Regions from separate parts of the Homo sapiens genome. Here regions 2 and 3 are each linked to region 1. The links are contacts of gene promoters, found by promoter capture Hi-C in blood cells and fetal thymus (Javierre and others, 2016). All regions are on one chromosome and are shown on one strand. Each heading gives the region's core, a stretch centred on a gene start or on the middle of the fragment in contact. The rest is flanking DNA. Distances are from core to core; before and after follow the strand shown. Region 1 holds the start of CNR1 (cannabinoid receptor 1). Region 2 has its middle 8.0 kb from the start of AKIRIN2. Region 3 overlaps LOC101928911 (a long non-coding RNA gene).

Evidence for each region. The method cuts DNA at HindIII sites, captures the fragments that hold promoters and counts their contacts. A CHiCAGO score of 5 or more calls a contact.
Region 2: a contact is called between a fragment that was not itself captured here and the fragment with the promoter of CNR1 in region 1, in 1 of 17 cell types (total B cells). The highest score is 5.0, in total B cells.
Region 3: a contact is called between a fragment that was not itself captured here and the fragment with the promoter of CNR1 in region 1, in 1 of 17 cell types (naive B cells). The highest score is 5.5, in naive B cells.

Annotation. Positions count from the first base shown.
Region 1 is chr6:88,164,192-88,168,122 of GRCh38, reverse strand. CNR1 (cannabinoid receptor 1) reads left to right here and starts at 1,776. Exons shown (of 2, transcript NM_016083.6): 1 at 1,776-2,320. RefSeq lists silencers at 650-849, 920-1,359, 1,420-2,099. The HindIII fragment of the contact is 6,129 bases long and covers 1-3,336 here.
Region 2 is chr6:87,708,256-87,712,186 of GRCh38, reverse strand. No RefSeq gene overlaps it. Among named protein-coding and RNA genes, the nearest start is that of AKIRIN2, 8.0 kb to the right of the region's middle. RefSeq lists an enhancer at 1,846-1,985. The HindIII fragment of the contact is 672 bases long and covers 1,446-2,117 here.
Region 3 is chr6:87,817,685-87,821,615 of GRCh38, reverse strand. All of the region lies in intron 2 of LOC101928911 (a long non-coding RNA gene), which reads right to left. Among named protein-coding and RNA genes, the nearest start is that of AKIRIN2, 120 kb to the right of the region's middle. The HindIII fragment of the contact is 4,947 bases long and covers 1-3,931 here.

The DNA of each region.
Region 1 (3,931 bases), core at 527-3,026:
CTATCTATCTCCCAGTCATTCTTCCATCTATCGATGGGTCCATCAGAACTTTATTGATAACCTTTTCTAACCACCCACCTAGTAGGACTTAATCATTTCAGCGGTGGACTCTCTCTCTCAATGGAGTCAAATGGTCATTTGCTTGACGGAAATACTTCTAGTCTAAAGCAGTCTAGGGGGATTTTCAAAAACTGCACTAGTGCTCTGCGGGAAGCCTTTGTACGATTTGGCCTGACGTTTCCAAAACGGTTTTACAGCCTTCCCTCCTCCAGGACCTTGAACTCAACAATCTTCCTTCTTTCCCTGAGAGGCTCGCTTTCACAGATTCTCACCACGTAGTTCAAATATAGGGTCCAGATATAGTACGGTTGCTGTTGGGGTCTGATCAGGGGCGGGAAGACCTGGAGGTCGGTAAAACGGAGCGGTGCGGGATGATGTCTGGGAACACCGGCAAGGTGTCATAAAATGAACGCCAAGGCGGCCACAAGAGGACGGCCGGGAACCGAACCCAGCGCCCAGCACGGGGCCCTTGTGGCCGACGTGACGTGGCTCCGTCAGGTGGAAACCGTGCGATCCTCTCCCGATCCAACTCACGAGAGATAAAGATGTCTAAATAACCACGACCGCCGCCGCACACCCTGCAGGGCCCCGGGGGCGGAGGGGAGGGGAGCGCCTCCTCGGCAGAAGCGGCGGCCCAGGCTTGTTTGGAGGTTCGCAATTCACCATGATAAATGTAAAGACCAATTAAGGTTTGATCCGTGCACACAGGAGGCAGACGGCGGCTGATAGTGGAAACAATTAACGAGCATGTCCCCTAATTCCTGCCGCGGCTGCTGAGCACACCGCGGCTCCCCAGGCGCCCGCCGCTGCCGCCCCCGAGTCCCAGAGCCCCCAGTCCGGCCCTGGAGTGGGGCGTCCTCCTCCAGCGAAAAGGTGCGAGGAGCGGGGCCCCGGGTGGCCGGGGAGGGGGCGCGCCGGGCCGGGAGGCGCGGAGCCAGCCGCCTACGGAGCCCAACTGTTTGCATCGGGGACCGGCGGGCGGGGCGCGCCCGAGTGGTCTCGCCGGGAAAGGGCGGCGGGCGCTGGAGAAGGCGCCTGGCGCGAAGCTGGGCGGCGCCCCGAGGGCGGAGGACAGGTGGCCGCGCGACCGCAGCCAGGTAGCGAACGGCTCGGGGGCTGCGCAGCGCGGTCCCAAAGCTCAGCCCGGCCCCGGGCCCAGCTCGCTGCCGCCTGCCACGGGAGCGGCCTTGCGCGGAGGGAGGGGGCGCGAGACCGCACCCCCGGGCCCGGCGCGCCTCGGCCTCTGGGCTCCCGCTCCCCTTCCCCTTCCGGCTCAGCCCGCTGCCCCAGACGTGACCCCCGCGGAAGGTGTTGGCGATGCGCGCTGCCCGGGAGCGTGTGATTAATGGCCCCGAGGTCGTGGGCGGCGCATGCACCAGCCCCTTCTTGGCCTGGTCAGGGTGTGAGGGTATCCGGGAGCACAGCGAGGTCATGGCAGCGGGGGCCTCCGGGAGCGCGGCGGCGGAGGAGGAGGAGGAAGAGGAGAAGTAGGTGACGCGGGCCGAAGAGGCTTGTCCCCTCTGGCCCCAGGGCTGGCGCCGCGGCGGGTCCCCCGCCCCAAGCAAAGTTTGGGGCTACGGGCGCTGCGCTCAGGTCCCTCCCCGCGCAGTTCCCTCGGCGGGGTCTGTGCCGCCGCCGCTGCCAGGGCAGGACAAAGGCTCATTAACACGTGATGGGACCGCGCTTCATAAATGGGACTGGAGCGAGAGGGAGCCAGAGACAGCGCGAGCGGAGGGAGCGGCAGGGACTGCGCGAGCGGGACGAGGCGACGGGCGCCCGGGCTGGCGGAGACGGGCGGCCCCACGCCGGGCCAGGCGGGGCTCGCGGGAGGACCCAGTGAAGAGCCTGGGAAGGGGCGAGGCTCGCCGGCGGTCGGAGCAGCGGGGCGCCAGTCCCGGTCGCTGTCGCGGGCGGGCGCTGGAGACCGGGACGCCGGCGCTCGGACGGACTGACTTGCTGACCGCCCGCCGGAGGCACACCCCACTCCACCCCACCCCGCCTCGCCAGCAGCCCGGCGCCGGCGCCGCCTCCCGCACGCTACTCCCTCTGCCACCCCTTCCTTCTCCACTTCTTTTCCGCCTCCGCCTCTTCTTGTCTCCCGCGGCGCCAGCGCCTTCCCTTGGCCCGGGCGGGGGCCTCGGCTCCCTGCAGAGCTCTCCGTAGTCAGTGGGGGATATTTCGTTCTAGCGGACAACCAGCCCCTGAGCTGGGCGAGAGGTGCCAAGGGAGCTTCTGTCCCGAGGACCAGGGGATGCGAAGGGTAAGACCTGGCAGAGTTGCGTTTGGAAATACTTTTTCCGCCTCCCGCCCCCTCGGGTACGACCAGTGTGGTCCCCAAGTGTCCTTCGTGGAGTTCTTATTCCGTGTGAGCGAATCGTGCGTCGGTGTTTACTTAGCTGTATGGCCCCAGCCTGTTAACTGTGATCTGTTCTACTTCTGGAGATTTCTACCATTTACTATTTATTGAATGTGTGTGCACCTGGCTCTGTATGCACTGATGTCTGTTTGTAGAAAATGGGTAATTGTGCATGTTTGAAAAACGGGCGCTTGAGTTGGTGCTGAATGCCTATAAACCATGTTAGCAGCTAAGTCTTCCCAGGGAAATACATCGATCTCTGCTGCAAGCCTAGAAACTGACTAATGTAAAATAGTAAATGTCATATAAAGAGATGTATGTCAAATAATAAACTTTTGATAAAAAGCTACAGGAACCACTTCTCTTTGAGGAAAAACAAATGTCCATGTAACTAATACCTAAAATTGAATGTTGATGGAACCGTTTAACTCAGAACTAGCTGTTAGATGACTAAAGTTAATGTTGCATTTTTAAAAGACATTTCTTGTTAAGGCTTACAAATCATAAACGGATCACCTCTCAAATAAAAATATGTTTGCTGTAATAGACATGAGAAACTGTCATTTGGTCATTTGGAAGTTTAAAAGCAACATGCATGTTTCTGATTTTAATAGATTGTCTCTCAGATATTTAAAATTGAACAGATAAAAAAACAAAAGAAATGTTTAGTAACGTATTAATCATTTTGCCTCCCATCTTTTTTTATTTTCCTCCAAATAAGTGCTATTCTTGCCTTTGTTGTTGATTTCCTGATATAGTAAGCCTCCTCGGGCATGTAATCCAATAAGAGATTAGAACAGATTTACTGGTTTTAAAGGTGTTGAAAGATATCTCTGTGGGTCCCATAACTTCTCCTCATTTTTATTACCAAGTTAATATCTTTTGAACAATGGGGGAAATGCAATTTCTTAGAGGAAGCTTAGCGGACACTGAGTATTAGTGGGGTCACCACTGACATCAATCTATTTTGCAGAATATTGAGAAGCTCAGAGCAACCAACCTTTAAGGTTCCCATAGGACTTTATGTGATTTAAAGTGTTGCTTTTCTAATCCTACCCTACTGACAGTTTGCAAGGGAAGATACACTAATTGATTTTTCTCTGTCCTTTTTTTCCCTGGTACTCCTCCCCCTCCCCCGCTCTCTAACTCAGTTAAGAGCAATTTTATAAAAATAAAAGGCCATTTATAGTTTCTTAAGTGAGACAAATTACTTTCAGATTATATCCATACATGAGCAGAAGACATGCACCTCCAGAATTTTAAACATTGCATACTACAGGCACTTATTTGTAGGCACAATGGCAGTTACCATAGTGGGGCAAGAGACTTGATGTGGGACATGGTTTTAAAAAACTAATCCATTTTAGCTTATCAGGAGAACTTACTGTAAACCGACTCTTTTTGTTTCAAAGATGTCTCCCACTCCAGGCGAGGAGCGCTCTTGGCTGAGGTATGTATCAAGTGTCTGATGGGGAGAGGTCTCATTGTGTTTCTCAGTGTCCATGGGGGTACAAT
Region 2 (3,931 bases), core at 532-3,031, 460 kb after region 1:
GTCCTCAGGTGTGTGGCAAGCCCTCTGTGAGGCCACAGAGATACTAAGATAACTAATAACTAAGACATGACCCCTGTGATAGAAAGTAATAGTCTCTACTCTGCTCCATTTTAGACTGTGTGACCTTAGGCATGAGCCACAAATTCAATAGTAAAATGGGATTAACACTATGACCATGTAGGATTTTTATTAGGATAAGCTGAGAACACACCTGGGCCATGGTGGGATCCTCTGTAAACAATAACTTTTATTAGGTTGGTGCAAAAGTCATTGCAGGTTTTGCCATATTCCCCTCACATATTGCCAACCTAGGCTGTAACTCACCTATCTAGGCAGGATTAAAGTGACACACACCCTAAAACCCAACTGCACTGATTGGGAACTTTAGATGTTATCTGAGTTCCCTCTTTTGCACTCTCTCTAGTGATATTTGTGTACATTTCTCCTCCACTAGACTATAAGCGTAAGGGAGGGGCAGTGTCTTCTTCATCTTGCTAGCCTCCGTGTTGTCAAACAGTGTCTTAGACATAGCAGACTCGCAGTACATGGTTGTTTAAACAAGAAAGACTACTCTAGGTGTTCAAAATAATTTTTGTGTGCACCCCAATCTCATCTTTCACGTCACTTTTCATATTCCAAAATAAACTGCCAACACACAGATTTAATGAACCCAATCACTATTATCTTCTGTTGTAACCTAAAAGGCACAGTAGGTTTTAGAGGTTGGAAATTAGGCCATAATCCTGACAGTCACTACTCCTGTACTGCATGCTTATCAGAGAACATTCAATTGGGCTGGCTGATTCTCTTCTCAATGAATACTCATGGACTTTCTTTCAGAAGGGTTGTGAATTTTTAAATTGACAATTGTGCATGACCAAAACATTAAAAGTTGAGACTCCATTAGAATTGGAATGTCAGCTGGAGAATGGTTGGGAATATTAGTTTGACAGTTTTGAGTCTGAACTCCCACTCTTCTTTGCGAAGACATGTAAGAAGTCTCTGAAACACAATAGAAGATAATAAGGAACATCCTAGAAAGGCAGTCAGAGGTGAGAATTAAACTCACTACCCAGGAGGAAGACAAAATTGAATAAAAGTCATTGGCAGCATTCTGCTTGGGTGTGTATGTGGTGGGGGCAGCTGGCTCAGAAACTGGACCTCAGCAGCCGTAACTGGACTGTAGGCAATCTAATAGACAAAAAGGCTTGGGGAGATTTTGGAGTTTTCCTTAGCATGATAATAATAGACATGGCTAACTAAGGGTTTATTATGCACTAGACAGTATCGTGTGATGTACTGGCTTTTAATTTCCAGATTGATGGTAACTGGGATGACTTTTTTTCTCCAGAAAAAAAATTGTATTTTATTTTTCCAAATTATTATGATAAATGGGACTTTTGAAAAAGAATTTTCAGACAAGCTTGTAAGATAGAAAGTAAGCTTTGAAGGTAGGAATGTCTTATTCCCATGGACCCACTCCATGACCCCACTACTCAGAGGCAAACCATACCAGGAGTGTGAACTGTCTCCTTTAAGTACAAGATGGGGACAATTCCTTGTACTCATCTGGCCACAATATATAACAAACTGTGGCACACAAGTTTCAGATAAAATCTAGCAATTTTTTGAGTACTCTATAAAGCCCTAACTTTAACACAAGCCCTGAGGACTGCAAGGGACCAATAATCAGTCCCAAGGTGATGCTTGTTATCAGTGGGTGGGGTTAGGAAAGCTGCTCCTGGGGTAAGAGTTGAGCCTCTTTTATCATTTCCTTCACACCATGCACCTGGCTAACCCTTATAACAATGGGCTTGCAGAGGAAGCCCAAAATATTGGGGAAGTGCAGGCATCATCTCATTCTCTCAAAAAGCCTCATCAGAGAAGGTTTGTGGTGGCATCATGGAACCACAGGACAAAAGGCACAAGAGGGAACGAGAGCCTGACACAGACAGTGACACCAATTCTGAGTCAGGCTTGGACTTAAGCAAGACAACGGAACAGACAGCTGCAGTAGAAGGTGTGAGGGAATTCTAAAACTAAATGATGAGGCGGGGCTAGAGACAACCTTTAGGGGCTTGAGGTCCCCCACCAATGGGGAGATAGTGTGTGAAGCTTTTCATTATTCATCAAATGTTTACTGTTTAGTTTATAGCTGGCACTCTGCAGTGAATAGAACATGCATGGTCCAAAGTATTTCATGTATTTAACTTTCCAAACAACTGAAACTTTAAATTATCTGAATCTTAAATACCTTCTATGGGATATTTTCTTTTTCTTTTCTTTCTTTTTTTTTTTTTGAGATGGAGTTTCGCTCTTGTTGCCTAGGCTGGAGTGCAATGGCATGATCTCTGCTCACCACAACCTCTGCCTCCCAGGTTCAAGTGATTCTCCTGCCTCAGCCTCCTGAATAGCTGGGATTACAGGCATGCGCCACCACGCTTGGCTAATTTTGTGTTTTTAGTAGAGACAGGGTTTCTCCATGTTCGTCAGGCTGGTCTCGAACTCCCGACCTCAGGTGATCTGCCCGCCTCGGCCTCCCAAAGTGCTGGGATTACAGGTGTGAACTACTGCACCCAGCCAGGATATTTTCTTTTATTATTATTATTATTTTTTAAAATTATACTTTAAGTTTTAGGGTACATGTGCACAACATGCAGGCTTGTTACATATGTATACATGTGCCATGTTGGTGTGCTGCACCCATTAACTCGTCATTTATATTAGGTATATCTCCTAATGCTATCCCTCCACCCTCCCCCCACCCCACAACAGGCCCCGGTGTGTGATGTTCCCCTTCCTGTGTCCAAGTGTTCTCACTGTTCAATTCCCACCTATGAGTGAGAACATACGGTGTTTGGTTTTTTGTCCTTGCGATAGTTTGCTAAGAATGATGGTTTCCAGCTTCATCCATGTCCCTACAAAGGACATGAACTCATCCTTTTTTATGGCTGCATAGTATTCCAAGGTGTATATGTGCCACATTTTCTTAATCCAGTCTATCATTGTTGGACATTTGGCTTGCTTCCAAGACTTTGCTATTGTGAATGGTGCTGCAATAAACATACGTGTGTATGTGTCTTTATAGCAGCATGACTTATAATCCTTTGGGTATATACCCAGAAATGGGATGGCTGGGTCAAATGGTATTTCTAGTTCTAGATCCCTGAGGAATCGCCACACTGTCTTCCACAATGGTTGAACTAGTTTACAGTCCCACCAACAGTGTAAAAGTGTTCCTATTTCTCCATATCCTCTCCAGCACCTGTTGTTTCCTGACTTTTTAATGATTGCCATTCTAACTGGTGTGAGATGGTATCTCATTGTGGTTTTGATTTGCATTTCTCTGATGGCCGGGCAGAATATTTTCTAATATCATGTTTGTTACACATTTTTTGAACTGCATACTAAACATAGTTTGTGCTTTTCTTGATGATTCATGGTCACTGTCTTGTGCTCCTTACTTAGGGTTGCCAGATAAAATACAGGGTACCCAGTAAAATCTGGATTTCAGCTAAATACATGCAATATTTGTGACTTTCTTAAAAAATAGAGATAGGGTCTCACTATATTGCCCAGGCTGGTCTGAAACTCCTGGCGCAAGCAATACTCTTGCCTCAGTCTCCCAAAGTGTTGGGGTCACAGGCATGGGCCACTGCATTCCAGCCTGTGACATATTTATACTAACAAATTATTCCTTGTTAATCTGAAATTCAAACTGAATTTGAATTTGGGCATCTTATATTTTTGTTAAATCTGGCAACCCTACCACTGTTATATATGATATTATAATAATACAAGGGAGCCTCAGCTGCAGTTGAGCCGCGGTAGGGCTAATTGTCCTGACAGGGAGGTGTCTCAACGTTGTTGTTCTTTTTCAATTCTGTAGTTATTTTTGACAGTCTCTTTTATTGCTATCCAATGATTCTAC
Region 3 (3,931 bases), core at 474-2,973, 350 kb after region 1:
GAGCACACCATCTTGACATATAATGAGGATGCAGTAATTATTTGTATTAATAAATGAATGAGGAAATCTATAATTCTGGTAGGTAATCACAAATATTTCTCTGAATTGGAGTCAGGGGTGATATACCATTTATATTCTAATACAGTCAAGATGAAAATTGTCCTAGGCCTTCAGAATGTGTTCAGGAATTTTTGGAAAGAACTCAACTGGTCATTTGCAGATAAATCCTCCTATTTATAAATAGGGATCAAAATTAACATTTCTCATTAAACTCCTCCTCTTCCCTACCTTCAAGCCTGCAGGAAGATTTATAGCCTCCATTTTACTAAATAAGAAATTTGGCCGAGCACGGTAGCTCACGCCTGTAATCCCAGCACTTCGGGAGGCCAAGGCGGGCAGATCACTTAAGGTCAGGAGTTCAAGACCAGCCTGGCTAATATGGTGAAACCCCGTCTCTACTAAAAATACAAAAATTAGCCAGGCATGGTGGCTTGCGTCTATAGTCCCAGCTACTTGGGAGGCTGAGGGAGGAGAATTGCTTGAATCCGGGAGGCGGAGGTTGCAGTGAGCTAAGATCGAGCCACTGCACTCCAGCCTGGGCAACAGAGAAACAGAGAAAGACTCTGTCTCAAAAAAAAAAAAAAAAAAAAAGAAAGAAAGAAAGAAAAAAAAGAAAAGAAAAGAAAAAGAAAAAGAAACTAAAAATCAGAGAAGTTCAGTAATTTGCTCGAGTTCACATTAGCTAGCAAATGGGTGAACCAGAATTGAACCCAAAACTGACAGATTCCACAAAGACCAATTTCTTTCTACTATATTTTGCCACCTCGACATTTCTGTTAACATGTGTACTAAGGGAATACAGCTCCTGGGGGGCAGGAAATGAGTTCTGTCCACCATTATATAACTAGGGCTAGCACAGTGATGAATAAAAATCTATTGAATGAAGCTACTCATGGTCAACAACACCCAGCCCACCTTAGAAATGTGCCCTGGACAATGTTCAGTCCTCAGGGCAGCTGGACAGAGCGCTATCCGTAAGTAACCTCATCTGTTACCCAAGTTTGTCTACAAATGTTATCATTTTCTCGGCATGCCACACTGTAGGAAAGATTGGGAAGGCTTGCACAACTTGTCAATGTCAGTAAGGCAAGTTATGTGCTCATAGCAGTAAGAATGATTTTCAGGGCTGCAAGCAGTGGCTCATGCCTCTAATCCCAGCACTTCGGGAGGCCGAGGCTGGTGGATAGCTTAAGCCCAGGAGTTCAAGCAGCCTGGGTTACATGATGAAACCCTACCTCTACAAAAAATACAAAAATTAGCCGTACATGGTAGCATTCACCTGTAATCCCAACTACTCAGGAGGCTGAAGTGGGAGGTTCCCTTGAGCCTGGGAGGCGGAGGTTGCAGTAAGCCAAGATCCCTCCACTGTACTCCAGCCTGGGTGACAGTGAAACCCTGTCTCAAAGAAAAAGAAAAAAAAGAGTGGCCAGGAAGAGAGGATTTCTTCACTTTTTGAGTTCTAAAAGTTAGGCCTGTCCACAGTGAAGTGGAAACCAAGAAAACCAATGGAGGCCATGATAATGGATTACCTGAATCAGGAATAGAGAAAGGGTTCCTTGGCAAGGGTGAGAGAGAAGAAACCGCCTACCCGAAGCAAAGAAGTCAGAAATGGGAGGGGATCATTAAATTTGTTAAATGGAACTTAAAAATTTTCTGGTGTGGATGGTAAAATAATTATCCCATCAGAACTGTGGATGGGATTGGGAGACAGGAAGAGGGGCAGCAATGTGAGCTCTCTAGGACTAGGGTTCAAATTGGTTTTGCCTAAGTAATACAGAAAACTATGATGTATCTTAACAGAAGATCCAAGCCCCTTGCATTATTCTTCACAATGACAGTAGTTGCCATTAGTTATGTATACAGTATATCGTGTACTAGGCATCTTTACATACACCTATAATCTCATTTTTAAAATCTCACATAACTCTCTAAAGTGCATAAGTCCCCACTTACACATCAGAAATCTGCATCTCAGAGAGGCTGAGTAACTTGCCCAGTGTTAAATCCCCGATGAGGAGCAGCCAGGACTCCACCCCAGGCTGTCTGACTGGGAAACCCATAGCTTGCCACGTCTGCCACAAAAGCTCTTTCTGAGAGGCAGATATTCCCCCTCCATCTATCTGAACAAACATCTTCAAATGAGAAAAAGTGGGGCAAAGACTTATCTAATTCCCAAAGCCCTGTTATAACTTAACCAATTAATGATGGCAGAGTGCTTTGAAAATGCCAGTGCTGCACTCTGACTGCCTGGGCTTTGTTGGGGCTTTGAGGCCTCCTCTTCCCCAACTTCATCCTCAAACGTTGGGCTTCTTTGCTTATTCTAAACTCTCCCTAGGCAAGATTCCTTTTCCCTATCCATCTTACCGAACATGTCATACTAGATGTCCCACAAACATTTTAACTTAACACTTCCCAAGCCAAACCTATTTTCTTCCTCCTCACAGCCTCCCATCTTAACTCATGGGATGAAAGGCTCCACAGAGCTTCTGTTTCCCACAATGGCCTCTCATAAGGATATCAAGAGGAGCAGGGAGCCCCATTCTTGGGAGGAGCCTTCAGAACCCTTGTTTGATGGGATAGTTGAAAAACACTTCACATTAGCACTGTCTCCTGCAAAGCTCCTGGTTAATAAAGGGTGGGAGATGGACCTTAAGCTAACAAAAGTGTCTCAATAATTTTTATAAAACATGCTGAGCAGAAAAACGGGTAAGAGAAAGCCTGTTTCTTTCAAAGAATCATGAATTGCCTTGGAATGATTTGAGTGGCATAAATTGAGTCTCTGCTAAAAGACTAGAAAAAAAGAAACAAAATTTCCCAAATAAATACTGATGAATAATTAAAAGTACCTACCACCGCCTAGGCTGCTGAGCCACCAGCTTCTTACCAAGTTATAATTTGACCACAAACTTCAAAAAACCATCCAGAAAAAAAGAATGCTTGAAACAGAAGCCTTTTGTCTTTCTTTCTTTTTTTTCTTTTTTACTATCTCTGAGACAAACCCAAACAGGGACACATCTGAAAAGACAGATTGATTGAACAATATACGGTTCATTATGTGTGCTGGAGGAAGACAGTGTACTGATACAAGAAGGTGGAGGAGGGAGAAGCCTGGAGACACACAGTTACAGGAATTGCTCTGCAGTGCTGCAGTCAATTTTAATTTTGCTTCCATGTTTATATCAGAGCACAATTCATGATGGCATGTTTTCCCAAGTTCCATCTCTCATCTTCCGTACTCTTCCCCTACTTCATCACATTACCAAGCCCAAAGTTGTGTATTAGTTAGCTTTCAGTATGTAATCACTACTCCAAATCCTAGTGGCTTAAAACAACAGCCATTTATTTAGTTCATAGTTCTGTGGATTGGTCAGCAATTTGGGTTGGACTCCACTGGTTTACCGTCATGCTGCTTCCTAGCTAGGTGGCTCTATTTCTGAGGCTAAGGTGGTCAACAGAGGCTACAGGGATATCTGACCCATCATCATCCTGCAGGCTAGCCTAGACTTGTTCTTGAATGCCTCTCATGGTTCCAAGAGGAAGAGCAAAAGTACATAAGGCCCCTTGAAGACTAAGCTCAAAAGTGGCTTAGTTCACCTCCCTAGCATTCTATTGGCCAATGCATGTCACAAGTTCAGCCAAATTCAGGGGTCAAGGAAATAGACATCATCTTTGCATGGGAGTAGCTGCAGCTACATTGCAAAGGGTCATGGATTTAGAGAGGGAAATAATTATGGCCCTTTTTGAAAAAAAAAAAAACAACTATGCATCAGGGGTTTGGGGAAAGGGCCGCCATTCCTGTTCCTTTCCTTACACCTTACTCTGCTTTTCTCACTGCTGTCTACTCAGCAATTCACCCAAATCTCCTCAAGTT